Regions from separate parts of the Homo sapiens genome. Here region 1 is linked to region 2. The links are contacts of gene promoters, found by promoter capture Hi-C in blood cells and fetal thymus (Javierre and others, 2016). All regions are on one chromosome and are shown on one strand. The core of a region is centred on a gene start or on the middle of the fragment in contact, and the rest is flanking DNA. Distances in the headings are between cores, read along the strand shown. Region 1 has its middle 9.1 kb from the start of LINC01574. Region 2 holds the start of UNC5A (unc-5 netrin receptor A).

Region 1 (4,195 bases), core at 43-2,542, 59 kb before region 2:
GGCCATCTCAGGCCCCCTTTCATCCAAGGAAGCAAACATTTCTGCACAAAAACAATCCTCAGCCACAAAGCCAGAGCTTTCTGAGCATGTGGATCAGTCGGAATGCTCCAGCAATAATGAGTAACTTTGAATAATGCTTGAGCAAAGTTTCCCAGCAGCTGAGCGGAGGCCGTGGGTTCGCCGGGAGCACTGCAGGCCCTTGGTCCTGTCCCCAGGGCTGCTCATGGAGGATGGAGGAGCATGCAAACAGCACTTTAAGTGATCATCGCTGATCCTTTCTGTTCCTCTGTATCAGAAAAAATACTCTAGCACAGCAAACCTGTGATTTCTCCAACATTCTTATTCAAGACAAGGAGAAACTAGGTATTTAAATGAACTGAAACAAATAAGTAAATAATACCGCGTGTGGTACAAGGGTATAGCGAAAATCATGAGTGTATCATGCAAATGACTAAAGTTTGGGAGATGTGGCTTTTTGTCACATAGCCGTGGTCCTCAGCATGAAAGCACACACACTCTGAGCTCCCTGCTCCTGCCTTCTGTGATCAATGTTTCTAAAGCCCGTGGGCAGCCAGAAATCAGAGTACAATAAATATGTGCAATGGAATGTGGAGGGAGAGTGCAATGAGGATGTTTTTTGGTCTCAATAACAATTTTTTCTTTGGTCTCACCTACAAAGTAGAAGGTCACTAATCCATGAATTGCAGATCAAAAGGAAACTTTGAGACCATGTGGTGAATCAAGCATTCTCACCCTATTTCACAGACGAGGAGACTGAGTCTCAGAGGAGAAGGGGACTTGCCTAAGATTATACAGCAAGTGAGAACTGGCCCTAGAAAGCAATTTTTAGATCAAAAACAACAGCCTAAATTCCTGGACGTATAACACATGCCTACAAATCAATAAGAAAGAACCAGTCGAAAAACGGGGTAAGGATTTCAGAGAAAATACAAACATCATTTAAACATCAGAAAAGATGCTCAACTCCGGGCATAATAGACACACACGTTAAAATTATACTGACACATCTGCTTCTAGCTATGATGGACTAGCCTGCATCAGACCAATCACCCTGCTGGGAGCAATTCGGAAGGCTGGATGAAATACTACAGAAACAGCTGTTTGAAGATACTGGAGAGGCACCAAGGGTCCCAGATCCCAGATCCCAGAGAGGAGGGAAGCTCACAGAGGGGAGCCTGCTGTTCGGCAGAGCTCTGTCCCCTGCAGTGTTTGCCACTTCTGAGCAGTGCCTGAGAGGCTGAGAAGCACGTTAGCCATCTCATGGGGCTGGGGAGACAAAAACTGGAATCCAGGGCCTCTTGAGAAATAAGGACCCTATCTATATCCCCATATTCAGAACAGCACGACAAAATAGCTTAAAGGCAGAAGCAACTCAAGCGCCCATCGACAGATGAAAAAGGATAAACAAAATGTGGCATATACACTCAAGGGAACATTACTCAGCTTTAAAAAGGAAGGAAGTTCTGACACACGGTACGATGTGGATGAACCTAGACAACGTTACGCTAAGTGAAGTCAGCCAGTTGCATGAAGACAAATACTGCATGATTCCACTTACGTGAGATATTCAGAGTAATCACCTTCATAGAGACAGAAAGTGGAATGGTAGTTGCCAGGGGCTTGAAGGAGGTGGAATTAGGAGTTAGTGTTTAATAGATGTGGCGTTTCACTTGGGGATGATGGAAAGAGTTCTGGAGATGGATGGTGCTGATGGCTGCACAACAATGGGAAGGTACTTAATGCACTGACATACACACTTAAACAGGGTTAAGATGGTAAATCTTATGTTCTGTGTATTTCAGAACAATTTTTCTAAAAGCAAGAACGTTGGTAAATAGCCTAGGCTTTCATCCGGGATCCCAAAGCACTATACCCTAGAAGTAAGTTAGCCAGAACGAAACCGGCCCTTTCAGGGACTGCAGGCCTGTTTCAAATCATCTTAATTCCTGGTTGGATAAATGCAATTTAAGATTGATGCTGCCCCTGGCTTAGCAGAAGTTAAAGTAAATCCTCCCTGGAGGAGGATAACAGCATCCAGAGCCTCAAATTACCTTTTCCATGTTCATTTATTATGTCTGATATTCAGTGAAAAACAGAAATGCAGAAATACAAGAACGGGATGAAAACCAAGAGAAAAATAACACATTACAAACATATCCACGTGGTCTCAGATATTCGAGGTACCATAGTTGGCCTTTGAAATAACTGTAATTAGTATATTCAAGAAGCTAGATAACAAGAACGGGAATTTCAGCAGAGAACTAGAAACTATTAGAAAAAAGAATCAAATGGAAATTCTAAAAATAAAAAAGGGGGTGATAAATTTGACAGAAGATGTGTAAGATCTGCACATATAAAACTCAAAACATTGCTGAGAGAAATTAAAGGAAATATAAATACAGAAATACATTGCGTTCATGGATTGGAAGATTCAATGTGGTTAAGATGTTGATTCTCCCAAACTCATCTATAAAAACAATTTTTTTTTTTTTTGGTGGAGATTGACAAGCTCATTCTAAAATCTCTATGGAATGATCTAGAATAACCAAACATTTTGAAAAAGAAGAATAAGATGGGGAATTTACACTACCTTATTTCGAGACATTATTAAAGCTACAATAGTCAAGACAGTGTGGTATTGGTATAAAGATAGACATCTAGATCAATGGAACAGAAGAATGATTCAAGAAACAGACCACAGCTGTTGATTTTTGAAAAAGATACCAAGGCAATTAATGAATAAAGGATATTCTTTTCAACAACTGATGCTAGAACACTTGGATAAACATATGTAAAAAGATAAAAATAAAATTTAAAAGAAACCTTGACCTTATCTCACACCGTATACAAACTGAAATGGTCTATGATCCTTGAAATTAGGGTCTATGATCCTCATAAAGTAGGCCTAAAAAATTAGATGTATGGTCCTTGAAATGGATCATAGACCAAAATGTAAAAGCAAAGCTATAAAACTTCTAGAAGAAAATCTTAGCAATCTTGGGTTTGGTAAAGTTTTCTTAAATATGACAAAAACAATGACATATACAAGAAAAATAATAAAATGGACTTCACTAAGCTTAAAATATTTAGTCTTTAAAAGACACTATTCTGTTTGGCAGTTTCTTAAATATATACTTGCCATATGACTTAGCAATTCTTCTAGAAGAAAAGATGTGTTCACACAAAGACTTGCATGTGATTGCTAATGACAACTTTAATTATAATAGGCAAAAACTGGAAACAATTCAAATGTCCATCAAATGGTAAATTCATAAGCAAAGTATGGTATATTCACATAATGGAATACTACTCAGCAATGAAATGAGTTATTGATAGATGCAACAAGATATAGATGAATCTCAAAAACATTATGCTAAGTGAGAGAAGCCAGACACAAAAGGATATATGTGTATATATTTTTAGAGACAAGGTCTCACTCTGTTGCCCAGGCTGAAGTGCAGTAGCTCACGATAACCTTGAACACCTGTGCTTAAGTGATCCTCCCACCTCGGCTTCCCGAATAGCTGGGACTACAGGCGTCCTCCACCATGCCTGGCTAGTTTTTCAAATTTTTTGTAAAGACAAAGTCTCACTATGTTGCCCAGGCCCAAACTCCTGCCTCAAGCGATCCTCTTGCCTTGGCCTCCTGAGTCACTGGGATTACAGGTGTGAGCCACCACACCCAGTCTGTATGTTTATATACATACATACATACATACGTATATATATATATGAAATTTCTAGAAAAGGCAAAACTATATATCTAATAAGCATATCAGTGAGTGTCTGAGGCCCATGATGAGAGTGAGGCATGACTATAAACAGGCACAGGGGAACTTTTGGGGGTAGGGAAAGTGTTCTAAAATGGTATTGTGGTGATAGGTGAACAATCAAATTATTTACTAAAAATCATTGACCTGCACACTTACAATGGACGAATTGTATAATGTGTAAATTAGACTTTAGTAAAGCTGTTAAAAGTGGGAGGAAAAGACAGTGATAAAAAATTAAAAGGCCAACCGCAAACCTGGGGAAAGTATTTGCAAAATATATATCTGACAAAGGACTTGTATCTAGAATAGATTGAAAACTATTACAGCTCAATAAGAAGACGATAAACAACCCAATTTGTTAAATGGGCAAAATATTTGTTCAGACATTTCACCATAGAAGT
Region 2 (4,190 bases), core at 1,512-4,011:
CCTGGAGTCATAGACCCATGATGGACAAATGAGAAACAAACCTTTGTTGATTTAAGTCACTGAGATTTGGGGACTATTTGTTACGACATCCCCTAATCTATCCTGACTCTTACATAGACCATTCCATTCTGGCTGAAGAGAGAGGGGCAAGAAGAGAAGTGAACAAAGCAGCCAACTGAGCAGAAAAGACCCTTCCTTTCCTGTATCTCAAACCTCATTTCCCAAATTCAAATCCCAGAGTAGAAACTGTAGCAGGAGAAAAGATGAGGACACGGACGTTGAAACCAAACCTCCCAAGGATGCATCTTAGCTAACCCTGCAGTCTATTGGATAAGGTTGGCCCTGAGCAATCAGGCACTTCCTCTCCCTACGCCTCAGCTACTGCATCTGCATAATGGGAATAATAATGTTTCTTTAACAGGACTGCATGTGAGGATCAAGCCAAATTATAAATGTATGCAAGGACATAGTGGTGTCCAGCATACTTTTTTTTTTTTTTTTTTTGAGACGGAGTCTTGCTTTGTCGCCCAGGCTGGAGTGCAGTGGCATGATCTTGGCTCACTGCAACGTCCGCCTCCCAGGTTAAAGCAATTCTCCCTGGCTCAGCCTCCTGAGTATCTGGGATTACAGGTGCCCACCACCACATCTGGCTGTGTGTGTGTGTGTGTGTGTGTGTGTGTGTGTGTGTGTGTGTATTTTTAGTAGAGATGGTGTTTCGCCATGTTGGCCAGGCTGGTCTCAAACCCCTGACCTCAAGCGATCCACCCACCTCAGCCTCCCAAAGTGCTGGGATTACGGTGTGACCCACCACACCCGGCCATCCCTTTAGACAGAGCATACACTATTATAATGTCATCTTATACCCCAGCCCTCAATCCTCTTCCTTCATCCTCAGCCACCAGCCTCCAGTGCCCAATCCCCAGTGGGCCCCAAGGGCAGATCCTGCCACTGACTCTCCTCTCCCACCCACCTCTTTCCTGCAGAGGCTGAAGAGGGGTGTTATGGTGCCAACAGGAGCAGCCTGGGCACACACTGCTCCTACACACACACACACACACACACACACACACACACACGAGACATGTGAGTTGATCAGGCCCTGACACCGTGTACATTCAAACTGCCCCGAAAGCAAAGTTCCCAAACCAGAAGGTGGTGAACACTTTCCCCTGGGCTCACATGAAGTCTAAAAAATTATTTTTTACTAGTTAAAAATTTTAAATCAGAATATTTCACATACGACGGCTTCTGTTGAAAATTTGGAAGATGCGGCTATACTGTGCCCCGGTCCCCTCCCCCGACAACCAGCACCTGGAGCAGAAAAGGCAGCTGCCCCTTGAGATGGGATCCTTGTGCCTGTCCCCAGCACTGCCCTTTGCCTCCCTGGCGATGGAGCCCAGCGTCTGTATGGTTGCCTCTGGAGCTTTAGCTGGTGTTTTTTATAGTAGACTTAAGAGGAAAGCAAAACATTTTTCATAACCCTTCTCTATCAAAAGTGGGAAACAAAAGACAGACCGAGAGAGGGCCTCGTGTCTCAAGAAATATAGGAGAGCTCATATCTCTTTGTGGAAGCAAGACCATCCCTTACATCGCCTAGCCTGCAGCGCCAATTTATATTATCGACCGGCCCCGTAGGCGTTTGAGTTTGCGACCCTGCCCTCACCCTGCTCATTCCCCTCCCGACCCAGACTAGGACCCTCTCTTTTTCCGATCACTCCCCCCAGGCACACCGCACGCGGCTGTCATTTCCTTTCTCCTTCAAGGCAGCCCTCTGTTTATTTTAACCCGATTAGGGAATGGGGGTGGGGCACAGGAGACTCCAGCAGCGGTCACTGCTGGAGGCTCCAGGAGACGACGTGACTTGACCAAGGTCACAGAGCTGGAAGGTGAAGTCGCCTGGACCCTACCCCCGGTCTCCCTAGCTGCCAAAGCCCAGCTCGTTCCTTTACACCCACGTCGCGGGCGCCGTGCGCTCTCGGGGCTCAAACACCGCGCGCCCAGTCGGGTGTGCTGCGCCTGAAGGTTGTTTTCCTTCGGCGAACGGCGCCGAGGGGTTAGGGAAACCTTGGGTCATGGTGTGAGGCGCGCCCCTGGAATCCACCAGCCTGCGAGGCTGGGACTGCGGGTGTCCCCGAGTCTGGCCTGCCAGCTCTGGTGGCCAGGGCACCTCTGCGCGCGGGCCAGGGCCCCGGGGCTCTCCCGCAGTCCCCTAACCAAGCCGCGGGCTGGCAGCGTACCGCGGCGCCCGGACGACCCCGGAGCGCGGCCGCGAGGAAAGGGCGGGGGAGAGGACTGCAGCGGAACCTGCCCGGGGCACCCCTGCCCTGGGCGGCTCTCCGCAGGCTGGCGCCGCGCCGGGGTCGCCGCAGCCCCGGGCCCCTCCCGGGCCACCTGTGCGCAGACTGGCGGGCCCGCGAGAGCCCGGATCCGGAGCACCGATCCACTCCGGGTTTCAGACTCCTGCCCCTGTCCCTGGAGACCCCGCGGGGCGGTGGGAGGCCTCCACGCCCACCACCCCAAGCCCCTCCCTGGGGGAGCCTCAGGCATCGCCCAGAGGGATTCCCGGTGCTGGGGGTGGCCCGCGCGCGCTGCGCGGGGCGGCCCGGCCCCTCCTTCCTTCCCCCGCCCCTCCCAGCCGCCGCCCCGCTCCGTCGCTCCAGTCCGGGTTTTGCGGCGCCCACCGGCCCGCTCTCCGGCTGCGGGCTCCGCGGCGCGGCTGGCTCGGTGCGCGGCGCGGCTGGCGCTGCGCTCCGCCCCGGCTGCATTGCTGCGCTCCCGTGCCCAAGGGAGCCACGCGCCGCGTGCGCCCGGCAGCCGGCCGCCCGGAGGCAGCGCAGTCCGCTGGCATGGGCCCCGGGGGCGCCCCGAGCTGGGGCTCCGGGCTGAGGCGCTAAAGCCGCCCTCCCGCCCGCGGGGCCCCGCGCCCGGCCCGCCCGCCTGCCCGCCCGCGGCCATGGCCGTCCGGCCCGGCCTGTGGCCAGCGCTCCTGGGCATAGTCCTCGCCGCTTGGCTCCGCGGCTCGGGTGAGTCACGCCGCGCGCGCTCTGGGGAGGCTTGCGGGGGACCGTGCGCGCGAACGCTCGCTGCTCTGGGGGTCCCTGACCAGCGCTGCCAGACCCGGCTGGGAGCCCCCCGAGGCCAAACTTTGCGAGGCGGGACGCGGGGGGCTCTTCTTGCTGCTGCGCAGCTTCCCCGCGCGCTCTCCCGGAAGCCTGGGTTCTGCCAAGTCCAGGAGCAGCTGTCAGCCCGCGGGGCTGGCGAGTGTAGACACCCCACGCCTCCGGGTGGGGGAAGTTTGCTGGTTGCCTGGGCCCGGAGCAGGGCTGGGGGTTTGGATCAACCCCAGGGAGCCTGACTTTGAGGATTCGAAGATTAGAGGGTTTTGAGCCTATCCCAGTGCCCAGGAAATGGGGGGTGCGGGGAACGTTTAAGATACCTCTTCCCGGTAGCATCTGCCCTAAACAGCCACTCACAATCTCCCAGCTTGGCACCTGGCCTCTGCCCACGTCCAGAACACAGTGTCCTCCTCTGTCCCCGCCACACACGCTCTCACACGCACACACTCAGGCGTGGAGGCGCATACACCAGCCCCCAGTCCTTGCAGCCAGCACAGTCAAAGCGCCGCGGTCCCGGTGGCCGGGGCTGTGGCTCCTGGCCTCCCTGGTGCGGGGGGCCAGAGTTGTGTGTGGTTGGTCCGCCAGTTTCCCCTTCTTCCTTAAACTCCATAGCCTTTCTTGGCCCCTGCATGCCCCATTGGTCACCCTAACCCACTGCTAACTCAGCCCTCAGCCCACCTCATTCCCTTGGGAGGGGCTTGGGGGGAGGAAGTTCCCCTGCATCCTTTGTCTGCTGTCCCTGAGCCTTCACCTAGGCTGAGCTGTGGGGGCCTCCTGATCTCTGCCCCCCATGCACTTAGCTGAGTTGAGCGTATGTGTCTGTGGTGGTGGGGGGTGGGTGCCATTTGTGTGGTCAAGGGGGCTTGAGGCTTACCCTGGCAATTCTCGATTCTTGCTGCCCCTAGAACCTGGGCGGTTACTCCCCAGCCTGGCCAGGCCGCTGCTTATAACAGGGGTGTTGGAAGGGAGCACTGGGGTTTCTGAGCTGCCAAACCAGATTGATCAGAGATCAATGAGTGGGAGCTCAGGAGCCAGCCTGATGATTGAGGCCGATGGCTGTTTCCTTAAAGGGTG

Evidence for each region. Contacts are between HindIII fragments. The CHiCAGO score rates a contact against its expected background, and 5 or more counts as called.
Region 1: a contact is called between a fragment that was not itself captured here and the fragment with the promoter of UNC5A in region 2, in 1 of 17 cell types (endothelial precursors). The highest score is 5.1, in endothelial precursors.

What each region holds. Positions count from the first base shown.
Region 1 is chr5:176,750,243-176,754,437 of GRCh38, forward strand. No RefSeq gene overlaps it. Among named protein-coding and RNA genes, the nearest start is that of LINC01574, 9.1 kb to the left of the region's middle. The HindIII fragment of the contact is 3,606 bases long and covers 1-3,095 here.
Region 2 is chr5:176,807,798-176,811,987 of GRCh38, forward strand. UNC5A (unc-5 netrin receptor A) reads left to right here and starts at 2,762. Exons shown (of 15, transcript NM_133369.3): 1 at 2,762-3,023. The coding sequence starts at 2,954. The HindIII fragment of the contact is 10,823 bases long and covers 1-4,190 here.